Linked DNA regions of Homo sapiens: region 1 is linked to region 2. Evidence: promoter capture Hi-C in human tissues and cell types (Jung and others, 2019). All regions are on one chromosome and are shown on one strand. Each heading gives the region's core, a stretch centred on a gene start or on the middle of the fragment in contact. The rest is flanking DNA. Distances are from core to core; before and after follow the strand shown. Region 1 holds the start of CHST11 (carbohydrate sulfotransferase 11). Region 2 has its middle 170 kb from the start of SLC41A2.

What was found. The method cuts DNA at HindIII sites, captures the fragments that hold promoters and counts their contacts. A contact is called where the count stands out against the background at its distance.
Region 1: the fragment with the promoter of CHST11 here is called in contact with a fragment that was not itself captured in region 2 in 1 of the 25 tissues and cell types used here (spleen).

What each region holds. Positions count from the first base shown.
Region 1 is chr12:104,452,867-104,459,960 of GRCh38, forward strand. It overlaps CHST11 (carbohydrate sulfotransferase 11), which reads left to right and starts at 4,082. Exons shown (of 3, transcript NM_018413.6): 1 at 4,082-4,663. The coding sequence starts at 4,546. RefSeq lists enhancers at 3,751-3,800, 3,821-3,900, 4,821-4,870 and silencers at 3,971-4,100, 4,181-4,350, 4,391-4,670, 5,261-5,400, 5,561-5,620. The HindIII fragment of the contact is 13,105 bases long and covers 1-4,793 here.
Region 2 is chr12:104,781,180-104,788,138 of GRCh38, forward strand. No RefSeq gene overlaps it. Among named protein-coding and RNA genes, the nearest start is that of SLC41A2, 170 kb to the right of the region's middle. RefSeq lists an enhancer at 942-1,111. The HindIII fragment of the contact is 6,678 bases long and covers 2,173-6,959 here.

The DNA of each region.
Region 1 (7,094 bases), core at 2,832-5,331, 330 kb before region 2:
CGCGGTGGCTCACGCCTGTAATCCCAGCACTCTGGGAGGCTGAGGCAGGCGGATCACTTGAGGCCAGGAATTGGAGACCAGCCTGGCCAACATGGTGACACCAATCTCTACTAAAAATACAAAAATTAGCTGGGCATGGGGGTGCATGCCTGTACTGAAGCTACTCAGAAGACTGAGGCAGGAGAATTGCTTGAACCCAGAAGGCGGAGGTTACAGTGAGCTAAGATCACGCCACTGCACTCCAGCCTGAGTGATAGATTCTACCTCAAAAAAAAAAAAAAAGAAGAAGAAAGTGAGACAGAATAATGAGGGATAGTCCTTTCCTCCTTCCTCTCCTCTCTCCTTTATTTTCTTCTCTTCCTTCTTCCCTCTCTCCTTCCTCCCTCTTCATCTTGTCTTCCCTTCCTTCCTCCCTCTCTCCTTTCCTTCGTCCTTTCTTCTTTTCTCTCCCTTTCCCTCTCCCATCCTTCCTCCTTCTCTTTCCCAGGCAATTCTTTTCTTTTCTTCCCCAACCCTTTCTCCTCTCCTTCCCTCCCCCTTCGTCTCTTCCCTTCCCCTCTTTTTCTCCCTTTCTCTTTCCCTTCTTCAATCCCTTTCTCTCTTGCTGTCTTTTTCTCCACCTTGTTCAGAAAAGCCTGCAAAGCAGAGCCTGCTCTCAGAGTCATGTCACGAGTAACCCATTTGTGTTACTTGCGGTTTACCTACCTGTAGAAAATTTGTACCCTAAGATCTCCACATACTGCGGGCAAATGGTTTATAATTCAACTTCACAAATATTTACTGTGCTCTGGTTAACTGAGTATCCTTTGTGCTAGAGGTGCCAGAGAGATGCAAATGGCAGCGCCAGTCCTTGGAGGAGCCAGTCTGGGGCCCCTGGCTGATGTTGGCAGAAGACACATCCCTCTCTCCCTTCAAGGATGCTGAAGAGCTCTCTGTCTACTAGTACCCTGGGCCCACTTTTCTCTCCAACAAGGTGCAGAAAAGGGCATCGTTGCCAGGTTTGCAAGATCGTAACAAGACAGTGCATTGTAGGTATAATCTGCCGGAATGAGGAGGCGCTCAGCCTGCGCGGATTGGAAGGGCCACATAAACATCTGTCAGTCCATTGACAACAGCACCCAGAAGCCCGAATTGTGACTTCACACCGATTTCTTCCCCTGCTATAAATTCTACAAGATCGTCAACATAAATAAGACTTTCTCCTCAACCAGTTTTTCAGGGCCATGCCAGGCTTTAAAATGGGCAGGCCCCTGGCCGGGCGCGGTGGCTCACGCCTGTAATCCCAGCACTTTGGGAGGCCGAGGTGGGCGGATCACGAGGTCAGGAGATCGAGACCATCCTGGCTAACATGGTGAAACCCCGTCTCTACTAAAAAATACAAAAAATTAGCCGGGCGTGGTGGCACGTGCCTGTAGTCCCAGCTAGTCGGGAGGCTGAGGCAGGAGAATGGTGTGAACCCGGGAGACGGAGCTTGCAGTGAGCCAAGATCGCGCCACTGCACTCCAGCCTGGGCGACAGAGTGAGACTCCGTCTCAAAAACAAAACAAAACAAAACAAAACAAAAATGCAGGCCCCAGTTTCACTTGCATGTTGTTGAATTTGGAGAGTCAATCAATCAAGCCAGGTCCCACAATGAGCACAATGCCAATCTGCAGAATCTTTCAGGGCAAAAGGGAATTTAGAAAGATGAGGGAGAAAGGATCTGAAGACTGATCCGTTCCTCTTTCAATGTTCAAAGTATAAAATTTTTCTCCTCAGTTTTATCAGTTAATACTGTCCTTTACTTGGCTAATATTTATTATATAGCATAAGATGTAACAAAATTTTCTTAGGCTAGGAATGGAAAGAAAGCAATGATTCTAACTGTAGTTGGGCAGTTTAGAGTGTGATGAAGGAGAAAACAGAATTTTTTCATCACCCCTCAATGTGCATAGAACAACAGAATCACAGACCATTACCACTGACCTTTGTCATAGATTTTAGAGGTGATCTAATCTAACTTCCTAGTCCAAGTAGGCATTACCTCTCTGCCTCTGACTTATTTGTACCTACTATGTACCAGTCATTGTGCTGGGCATTAGAAAGAGACAGAGATGAAGACAACTTGGATCTCCAGGAAGGAGTTCAGCCTAGTGGGTACAGTGGCCCAAAAGAGGTTTGGACCTAGTGCTCACAGCGCAGAGGAGGAAAGTTGCAATTTCAGGTGAGAAAACAGCAAAGACTTCTTGGGAGAGGTGGTAGCTTATGTGTCACAGCCTTAATCCTCACTGTGTTTGGGCAGGTTCCTGATTGTGGGAATGCAAGAATGGATGTTGGGCATGATTCACCATCCTCCCCCACCATGTGGGCCAACTCCATGATCTCTGTGACTCACAGGGAATTGGACTTCTGATCTCTTCCTTGACCCTGTGACTTCCCAAACTGCCTTGTGCATGTCCAGGCTTTGGGGCAGGTAACTGAAGTCTTTGGCCTATGAGGTGAGAGGTCACTTGGGTGACCTGGGAGTAAATCCCTTCCCCTCCCTGGCTCTGTAAAGCCAAGTGTTAAATGAGAGACTTATATTCCAGGCAAAGGCTTTGTGCAAATGCCCATCTAAGCCATGCCCTCTGCAAGGAATCCCCTTTCTTAGTGATGATGGTGGGGAGGTGGGGAGGGTGCAGTGCAACTCCCATTCCTGATCTCCTATCACCAGAGCAGAAGAATCACTGGAGAACGACTCTGTCTGAAGCTTGTTCAGCCTGGCTTCCTTGAGCAAGCAACTTATTCACAGGTAAGTCCAAATTAATACAGCGCACACCGGCTACATAAATATTGTGCTTTGATTGTCTTCTGTAATCAAAGGCAAGGCTGCTGAGTTTGTTACTTTCCCCACCATGCAACTGCTGGAGGAGAACTCTGGGGGAAGGGAACTGAGGTTGCCCAGGTGGTTTTTGTTGCATGTGTCTAACTGCAAGTTGTGTCTCTGTCTATCGAGGGGAGGATAAGGCCCATTACATTCAGATTCAATAAGAATTTATCAAATGCCTATTTTGTGAGAGGCATTGAAAGACACAGTATCTTATTTCATTTTTAATTGAATTAGTAATGACTTGATAAGGCACAAAGGTTAGTCTAACTAACATTTTTTTTTTCCCTGACATACGAGTGATCCCTACACTATTGGCTGTGTCCACTTTATTGATTGTGAAACAGCCTAAATGCATGGAATTGGAAACTGGAAGTCATTCTACACAATACAAGAAAGCAGCACCATCTTTCCATGTACCTGCCAGTGCTATGGCTGGCTTGGCTTTTCCAGCAGTTTTCTGGACTTGGTTGAGGTGGCTTCCTAGGGGCATTTTCTCACCCCCTCCCAGCTAAGACTGCTGTTAATTTTGAATAATTTGGAGGATGCTCTACCCTTTGGGGTAGCAGAGTTTTGCAACCCACAGATCCCTTTTGCCTTGAGGAATGGTGGTGATGGTGGGTGTCAGAGATTCTGTCTGTATAAGTCCCCGGGAAAGCTCAGCTGTCGCCTGACCCGAGGGTCGTGCAGTTTCCTTAACCCTGACTTTAAGTCAGCCCTCTTTAACCCCGACTCCCAAGCTGGGCTGTCCTTTGAAAGAAAAACGAAACCGCCCAGTTCTGAGCGTCGGAAAATGGGCACTCGCTCCCTGGGGGTTTGGGGCAACTTCCCCGCTACGTCGCCCAGGGATTTTAAATAATTGCCAGCCACCAGAAACCCCCTAACCCTTAATTCTTCCCTCCGAGACCCAGCCCGCTGCTTGCCACTTCCCTCTCCAAACGCTGGCGGGGGTGGGTGGCAGCACCGAGGCGATTTTCTTCGTCTTTTTTTCCTCCGGGTTTTGTCATGGAAACGCTGACACAACCTCCAGACGGCGGCCGAGCCCGGCCGGGGACTGAGGGCTTTTGGGACCCTGCGGGAGCGCGGCGCGCACACCGCACTCCCCGGGCAACAGCTGGACGCGACCATATCCCGGGTAGGGGCGGGGGGAGCGCGACGCTCCGCCCCGGCGCTAGGGTCCCTCCCTCCTCCCGGCTCTCCGCAGGCGCCCTCCCCTCGCCGGGGGCCGCGAGTTGCATTTGGTAAAACCCAGCCCCGGAATATATAGATCGTTGGAGCGCAATGAAGTAGCCTTTGGAGAGAAGGGAGAGGGCCCGTCGGACAGCCACAGCGGCCAGCGCAGCGGCAGCGGCGGCGGCACCACCATCACCGCTCGCACCCCAGCCGCCCGGCCCGCGACCAGGCAGCGGCGGCCGCCGGCGGGATCGGAGGAGGCGGCGGAGCGGCGAGGAGGAGGAGCAGGAGCGCGCAGCCAGCGGGTCCACGCATCTCAGCACTTCCAGACCAACTCCGGCACCTTCCACACCCCTGCCCGGGCTGGGGGCTCCGAGAGCGGCCGCGAAGCGACTCCGATCCTCCCTCTGAGCCTTGCTCAGCTCTGCCCCGCGCCTCCCGGGCTCCGGTCCGCGCGGCGGGGTCCCTGCTCCTGCGCCCCGGGCGCGCTTCCCGGACACCCCGGTCCCCGCAGCCAGGACAAAGCCATGAAGCCAGCGCTGCTGGAAGTGATGAGGATGAACAGAATCTGCCGGATGGTGCTGGCCACTTGCTTGGGATCCTTTATCCTGGTCATCTTCTATTTCCAAAGTATGTTGCACCCAGGTAGGGGGCGCGTTAGCGTGGTTTTGTTGGATATTTTCTTCTCTCTCGCGCTCTAGCTCGCTCCGCCTGATTTCTGCCTCTTCCAACCCTACCTCTCCGCCTTCGGCCTCTTCGGGGCTCCTGGCTGCCCAGAGCTCCTGGCTGCCCAGATCTACCCGGGTCACCGCGTCGGGATGGGGAGGAGAAGGGAAGGTGTGCTTCGCCCTCTTCTTCCTACCGGCTCCGGGCTGGAGGATGGGACCAGGAGGGGCGGTAGTTTTTTTTTTTTTTTTTTTCTTCTTCTTTTTTTCTTTGTGTCCCTTGTCTGTCTGTCTGCGAGGTAGCAGGGAAACGGAGAGGTGTGGGAAGCAACCGGGGGTGAGGGGCTGGTTTGAGGAGAACGAAACTCCCTCCCTGCTGCTGCCGAGGTCGGAGGATGAAAGAGTTACCCGGAGCCGGCTGCTCTGCGCCCGGGCGAGCCGCCTCTTCCTGGTTGCCGGGCCGGGGGCGAAGGGTGTACGCCCCGGCGAGGTTGCGAGTCCCTGCAGCAGGCTGGGAGCCCGGGACTGGGCTCCCACGTGTCCCGGGCTCCGCGCAGAGCTGAGCAGGTGTGGAGAGTGGTCGGGTGCCCAGCGTTGCCCCTCCACCACGCGCCGGCCGTTTGCCCCCGGGGTCCGGCTCCGCAGTGACCTTGCGGCTGGTGCCCCGGGGCCTGCTCCAGCCCCCAGCCCTGAGCTGGAAACTCCGAGCTCCTGGGTCACGCCTTGACCACTGCAGTTTTGGAGGAAACTTTGGCCAGGTCCTGGGCTGACCGTCCGTTTGCATCCCCCACTTCTGGGATCCGAGCAACGGGAATCCCCCGGGCGGCGTGGGAATGAACCCCATTCCTCCGGTCCCTTGTGGCTCAGGCAAAGTTCCACGTCCGAAATCTGGACTGGGGGAGGGACGAGGCTCGTCGCTTCCTAGGGGTGCGAGGGAAAGTTTGGGTTCTGGAGAGGGAGGGGCGCCCTCGAGCGCGGCGGCCGGGGGTGAGCAGCTCGGCTGCGAAGCCCAACAGGTAGAACGTTCCGAGAAGCCTTCCGGGTAACGCGGGTCTCCCCGCCAAGCCGTGGCTCCCCTGCTCCCTTTTACCCTCCCTTAGCAGCCCCCTGCCGGGCCACGTTGGCTCAGAAATCCATTTTCTACGCCTCCGAGTTGCCTTTCTCAGCGTAGTCACAGCAATAATTTGCTTTTCTAATTGCAAGGAGGAGGGAGGTGGAAACGCATTTCCTTCCAGGGAAGTGGGGTTGGTGTTTTTCATTTTTGCCTCCCGCCTTCTCCTTTCACTGTGTATCTAACACTTTAAACAGACGCAGTCCCGAATTCATCAAGCCTGCGTTTGGGTCGATGGCAGAGGAATAAAGCTGTTCTTTCCATCAAACAGGCAGGGCTGCAGGCTGCAGATTCCTTGACAGCGCAGGGACAGACGGCCCCTTTGCCCCACTCGGTCTGGAGCAGTTGTTAAGGCAGCCACACTGCCAAGGATATGGTCCGACTCTACCACATGTAACCTCAGGACGTCCGAGCCAGCCCTGTTAAAGATGGCTTTTGTTTGCAGCTGGGTATTTTTAGTTTAATGTCAGCAAACTACAGCGGTGTTTGTCTCCTCACCCAAACCTGCGGTTGTGAAACTTATAAAGGAATTTAAAAATGGACCTGGCTTGCATTCCGGCAGGCAGGCCTTGGTTGCAGTGGGCAGGGCCAGACAGCCAGGGGTATCTCAGAGTGCCAAGCTCCAGGGCCCACCGGAGACCGGGCCAGACTCACCCCAGAGCGCCAGGGGACTGGTGGTGTACAGATACACTCGGGTTCAAACAGTTTAAACAAGGGGCCGGTGATTTGGTCTAGACTCTAGAGCTGTGTTCAGGTTTCGCTGGGACCGTGAATGCCAGTAATGCTCTGTACGAATGCCCAGAACACGGATGAGTGTCAGCCTTCAGCAGGAATGCGCTTGAGCTTCTGTGTACCTGTTAATTGCCCAGGGAAATACAATTGTCATGGAATTCTTTGTGAGAATTGGGAAATAACTTTCTAGCCAAAGATACTAGAAAGAAACTTCCAACTTGTAATTGTCACTTTGTGAAAATTTCCAGCCCTTGTTAGTCTTAAGTTGACTTGAAAGTGACATCATATCTTTTCAGCCTAGCCTTTTGGAAGAGGCAGAGAACCTTTTCTAAGCTTGTGCTGAAAAAGATCCTCTGTCGATGATCCTGCCCCATCCTTTATGTCCCCCTCTAGTCCTATTTTCTCCCATTGTTTATTATTTAGATCTCTATAAATATACTTTTCTGATATTTCCCTCCAGTCCATAGCAAATACTACTTTCAAAACATTGTGTTGAATGTAGAATTACAGATAGTTCAGTTGAAAGGCCTTCCTTATTTCAGATTACTTACAGTCCACAAAAGCTCTG
Region 2 (6,959 bases), core at 4,262-6,761:
ATTTAGGGGAACAAAGAAAACAATGAATGCTACATATCAATCTGGGTTTTTAGCTGCAGAGTGAAGTGTCTACTCTACCTGGGTTTATACATTTATTCAACAAATATTTAAAGGCCTACAATGAACCAGGTACTTTTTCAGGTGTTGGTGGTACAGCAACGAATAGATTGGACATGACCCCTTCCTTTCAGTCAAGTGCAATCAGGCCTTCTGGGTGAAGAATGGCCAGTGCAGAGGCCCTGAGATGACAGCAGGCTTTGTGTATTTGAGGAGCAGCAGGGTAGCAGTGTAACTTGGGAAGATAGCACAGGGAAGCATAGTAGGAGGTAAGGTAAGGCCACATAAAGCCCTTCAAGAGACTGTCTTTACTATGAAAGAGAGGGGAGCCACTGGAGAGCTTTGAGCAAAGGAGTAAAATGATCTGATTTTACACAGATCACTTTGGCTGTGTGCGGAAAAGGCTCTAGAGGGTCAAAATGGAAGACAGGAGACCAGTGAGGTGGCTATTGCAATAATCCATACCAGAAGTGACAGTGATTTGGTACAGGGTAGTAGTAGTAGAGGTGATGAAAAATGATCAAATTTTAGAGACATTTTAAAGATATAATTGGATTTGCTGGTGGTTTGGCATCAGTTATGAGAGAGGAAGAAAGGTAAAGGATGGCTTCCAAGTTTTTGGCCTCAGCAACTAGAAGGATAGAGTAAGATAAATATAAAGATAATGATGAAACTAAGAAAAATAGCTAAAACTTTTATAGTACTTACTATGCGTGATCAACTGTTTTAAGCACTCAACATATATTCATTAATTTCAACCTCACAATAGTCCTATAAGTTAGCTAGTCTTATTAGCATTTTTCAGATTAAAATATCAAGGAACTTACCCACGGATATACACCTAGTGAGTGGCAGAACTGAGACTCAAACTCAGTAGCTTGGCTTAGTACTCTTAACCACTATTTTCTTTTTTTTTAGGAAAGACTATGAGAGGAGCGTGTTGAGGGCAGACTTGAAGATCAGGAGTTCGGTTCTAGACAAGTTAAATTTATGACACCTATATTCATTATCTGTTGCTGCAAAATAACACTCAGTGGCTGAAAAACCCCAAACATTTATTATCTCACAGCTTCTGTGAGTTTGATCTTGAGTGCAGTTTAGCTGAGTATCTGTGGCCCAAAGTCTCTCTTGGAGTCACTGGGGCTTGGGCTGTGGTCTCATTGGAAAGTTTGACTGAGAGTGAGGGATCTGCTTCCCCTCTAACTCACATGGTTTTTGGGAGGCATTGGTCCCTCACCACAGAGGCCGCTCTGCAGGGCTACCTTATAATATGAGAGTTGGCTTTTCTCAGGTTGAGTCATCCAAGAAAGGGCTAGAGAGAGTGAGTGCCCAAGATGAAAGGCACAGTCCTTTTATAACGTAATCTTGGAGTGACATCCATCACATCTACCCTATTCTATTAATTAGGAGTGAGTTAACATGCCCAGCGAGCCCACACTCAAGGAAAGAGGATTACACATGGGCACAAATGCCAGGTGGTGTGGTTCACTGCATATCCATGTGGCAAGGTCATATAGGCAGTTGGAAAAAATCTGGAATCTGAGGGATAAGTCCAGGCTGGAAAGCCATCATGGGGAATGTATTTATTATTGGATAATCTTTGAAAGGACTGGAGGAATCATCTCAGGCTGAGTCTCCAGGAACATCTCCCTGAACCATACTCCAGGACTGGTCTGAGAAGAGATCTGCTGCGGCCACTGCTGCTATGGACTCCAAAAATGTTGCACCTCTGCCTTCCCCCAGTGCCAGCAAAATAGGCGCCAGGTGTCCTAGCACGTTCTTCTTGCAACTAACTTTAGAATCAAAGCTCTCAAAAGAGCCTATGCTGGTTGGCTGAATCAAAGTCTATATTCTAATTACAAGGAGATGGGAAATGTAATATTTGTAATGTCTATGAGAAGATGAAATTAATATTATGAAAAGGTATCAAAATATGGGGAGAGTGCTCAAAGATTTCAAGCATCTATAAGTGACTTTTGTTCATCACATTCTGGGAGGAACTGAGATAACTTAGGAGAAAATGAAGATCATAAAACGAATCTAATTAAGAGCCACAAAGATATGGATCGATATCATATCCATCCATTCAAAGTACTAACAAAAAGAAGCAAAAAACAAGAAGTAGGTTGTGAAAAATTAAAGATATAAATGCATAAATGAAGAATGTAATACATTGGGTGAAATAAATAGATGAAAACATCTCCCAGAATATAGAACAACAACAACAAAAACACCCCAAAGAAATGGAAAATCTGAGGGGAAAAAAATAAGAAATACATAAGATCAATCCAAGAGGGTCCAAATTTAACTAAGACATCCTAGAAAGGAAAAGAGAATAAAAAGCATGAAACGTTTTTTTTTTTTTTTAATCCCAGAACTAAAGGAAGATATTCAAAAAAGTTTCCTAAGTTCCAAGCTCAATGAGTGCAAAATGACCCACATAGCTATAGTACCATGATGTTTTGGAACATGGAGGATAAATATAAAGATGAAAGAGAAGGGAGCCACTTTGCTTTGAGCAAAGGAGGAAAATGATCTAACGTTTTAATAATAAATGTTAATAAGCTAACATTTTAATAGGCTTACTATGTGCGATCAGCTGTTTTCAGCACTTGACCTATATTGGTTAATTTCAACCTCACTACAGTCCTACAAGGTAGCTACTCTTATTATTACCATTTTTCAGATGAAAATATCAAGGAACTTACCCATGGATACATACCTTGTGAGTGGCAGAACTGAGACTCAAACCCAGCAGTCTGGCTTAGTACTCTTAACCACTATTTTCTTTCATTAGTGACAGTGAATTCTAGAAAGCAGTAAAGAAATGCCTTCAAAGTTCTGAAGAAACATAATTTTAAATGGAAAATTACCCAAAATATTAATCAAGTATTAGAGGGATATAATACATTTTCACACATGTAAAAACTTAGATATACAAAAACCTATCTTCAAACATGCATGTGTGTGCAAGCATGTTTGTTATATAAGTTATGCATGTTTATAGGTTATATATAACATGCATATACAGGTTATATAACATGTTATAACATGCATATATAGGTTATATATGCATGTTTGCATATAGGTTATATATAGATACACACATATATATAGGTAAGTATATACACTTTCTGAAAAAGTAAATTAAGGATTTACTGCAGCAAAAGGAAAAATAACTTGAAGACAAACAATGGCATGACCTCCAAGAACAGTGAACCAATTAAAGAGTGCAACAAAAAGTAATCCCAGATAACTTCTATGCAAATGGGCATAAGCACTGGCCATCTTGCCCCTATTTTTACACTTCTTTGGTAAGAAACTCAATTCCGGGAGACAGATTTTTCAGTTTGGAGTCTATCTGTATGCTTCCTCTTGTACTGAGACAGATATGATATCTGTTCATTTGCCAGCCTATAGGTATGGTCTGGACACAGGCTGCAGGTAGAATCTGATGTCGTTTCCCAGGGAACTCAGGCAGACACAGCAGGGAGCAAGTGGGGCTGCTTCAGCATAAAATGCTGCTGAAAAGCTATTGCCCTCTGCTATGTGCAACATTCCATGGCTTCAATTCAAGGATAAAGCCCTGTTCTGGCCTCTCAAGTTTCTGCAGCTTTGGGATCCTGGGAGACAGTGCCTTAGGAGTAGACACCAGGGCTGTCAGGGCAGGAATGGCACCAACAGGAGTAAAGCCCCTACCCAAACAGTGTCTTGAGCTTTGAGCATGAACAAAGGGGATCCTGAGCTGAAGACCCTGAGAGGACAACTCTTGCCAAAGTGAAGTGAGAGACCCCCAGGGACTCCTAGAAATAATTGGGTGAGGCTTAAAGAGAGGGAGCTAGTGTTTCTGTGATATGCAAATAGACTAATGAGCAGGATAAATCTGAGTACTTACTGTAAACATATTGTGAACATAAGACCTTATTTGTACGCAGGTTGGTGAGGTCTGGGGAAACCTGAATTATATTTATCCAGCCTAGCATTGTCATTATCATCATCATTAACATCCTATTCTGCACAAACTCAGTATAATAGCAATTGTGCTTTATCTGAACTTCTTTTTGGATGCAAAATGATTTCAGTCTATGTGTCCTTTTCTACCTTTCCCATTCCAGCCTTGCTATTCATTCTGTGGTCCACAGACCAGCAACATAAGCATCACCTGAGAACTTTTTTGAAATGAAAAAGTTTGAGAATGTCAGGCCTCACCCCAGGCCCACTGAACCAGAATCTGTAACAAAATCCCCCAGTGACTTACATGCACATCAAAGTTTGAGAAGTTAATAACCACTCTTAAGGAGTGGTTATTGACCTGGCCTGGAACTGCTAAATTCCTGGAACTACTAAACTCCAATGATAAATGTCTGGCTCCTGTAACTCTCAGAATCACCTGGAGAGCTGGGTTTACAGTTCTGGAGTCTGGGAGCATGGCACTGGCATCTGGCAAGGGCCTTCATGCTGTGTCATCCCATGGTGGAAGGTGGAGGGGCAAAAGAGGAAAGAGATGAGAATGAGTGGGAGCCAAACTCGCTTTTGTGACAACCCACTCAAGAACTAGCCCATTCCCACAATAACAACATTAATCTACTTACGAGACCAGAGCCCTCATGACCTCATCACCTTTCATTAGGCCCCACCTCCCAACATGGTTGCATTAGGGATTAAGTTTCCAGCACATGAACTTTAGGGGACACACTCATGCCATGGCAGCCTCATTACAGATTCAAATATGCATCCTTTCTTCTTTCTACCATAGGCTTACTTACTTCTGACTCCCTTTTTCTCAATAAATGATTCTTCGGCGACGATTGACAGGAGTCAGCCATTGAGGAGCTGGGAGATAAGGAGGAAATGAGCTCACTGGATAAAATAGATAACGAGGAGGCCAGCCCTAACACTGGCAAAAACACACATCAAAGTGAAATGAGGGTAGTAGGGAGATTATGAAGGACCTTGTTGGCTGGGCAGAAAAGTCCATTTAATGTGGTGGGAGAAATGAAGGCCAGTGAAGATTGGAGAGAAGTGGGGAGAAAGGATACGCTGAAATTTAAGTTGAATTTAGTAAACAATTTGTATTTGAAGATACATATTTACCCACTTAAAACCAAGCATTGAAATGATGGTCATTTAAGCATTCTTCTCAGAAAACTACCTACCTAGGTGTTTCTCATACAAATCTGCTCTGGAGCCAATAATGACATTTAATAAAGTCTTGCTAATTACGTTCTCTAACGAATTGTGAGACTGCTTAATCCACAGTGCAGAGATTTGTATAGTCAATAACTGCGTTAAATAGCCTCAGTTACTTACATACGGTGTCTATTGGTGTTAATTGTATCCATTAACCCAGACAGAATTGTTTTAAATTTCTGCAAGATGGTTAATGTGCTGATTCCTCTGAGGCCACTAACCACATTTTTCCTTTGGCCACATTCATAATTGGGGCTTAATAAAGCTTCTTAATCTGAATTTAGCCTCTGGATAAACGACCAAGAAGTCTAAAATTCTTCCTCATGTGGAATACTTCATAATATGCTTGAATTGAAACTCAAAATTAACCCTATTGGTGTTTCCCCATTTCTTTGATTTAGGATCTTTAAGATGAGAGCATCCTTCAATGATTAGGAGAACTACAAGATGGAAATAAAGACTGTATTACTTACAGGTCCTTGGGCGGGACATGGCATGCCTAGAGGCCACACAGGGAGGTCAGACAGCACAGGCAGGGAGAGAAAAAAGAGACCCATGGGCCAATGCCTTTATTGGGTATTGGGCATTATCCAAACAGGTTTCCTGCACGGAGTTTTAATTGGGTTTAAACCAAGCAGGCACAAGTTCCAGGTCACACAATAACTGATACATGGTCACTATGGCAGATCTGCACAGTCTCTGTGGGGTGTAAGAGTGAGTGGGGCCAGTCAAGCAGGCTGCATCTAGCTGTCCCATGGGGAAGTGGTCACTAGGGAGCAGTTGTATAAGGCAGATATCTGGATGGGGCACATTGAGGAACTCGGCAGGGAGTTGGACTGGAAATAGTGTCAGGAATGACTGAGCCCTGCTTCTGGTATGAGAAAGTCTAATGTATTTAAAATGGATGCCAAGGCAACACAAAATTAATACATAATTGTATAAACATAAACATAAATTTTGTTGGGTATAGTGAATTAAGCATTCAGTTTACCCAACAAAAAATTGACTGAAAGAGGGGGCCAGACACAGTGGCTCACACCTGTAATTCCAGGGCTTTGGGAGGCTGAGGCAGGAGGCTCACATGAGGCCAGGAGTTGGAGACCAGCCTGGGCAACAGAGAGAGATCCTGTCTCTAAAATAATACTTTTTTTAAAAAAGTTGGCAGAAAGATATACTAAATAAAAATACATAGGCTTGTATCCTTCAAATGCCCTTAAAGAAAGATATTTATCATTGGAATTTAGTAGTTCCAGGAGCCAAGGTCTTCCTCAGCTGAACAAGTCACCCCCATCTACCTGGTCGACTGGGCTTGAAATGTCCCTATATTTGGCCCTTTACTTTCAGGGGCACCTACTGTTAATATTCTCAAGGGCACTATCTTACTTCTTATGGTGCATTTCAAAGGTTGTGGTTGATTTGTTTGGGTCCAAAAATAGTATAGTCCAATAATCTGATCAGTAGCCAGACATAACATCACAATTGAAGTTGTATTTACTATATTTTGTTGCACACTAGGTCTTAGGGAGATATCAAGCTGGGTAACAGTTGATAGAACAAGTTAGAATATAATTTGCCCAATATATGTCTGCAGACGTTTTGGAAGCCTGGGAAATGCAATGAAGAACTCTCGTCCTGTATGCTTCTGGCGGTGTCATATAGAGGATCACTTGCTCACCAAAATCGCCTTAAAAGGATGCATTAAATCCTTAAAT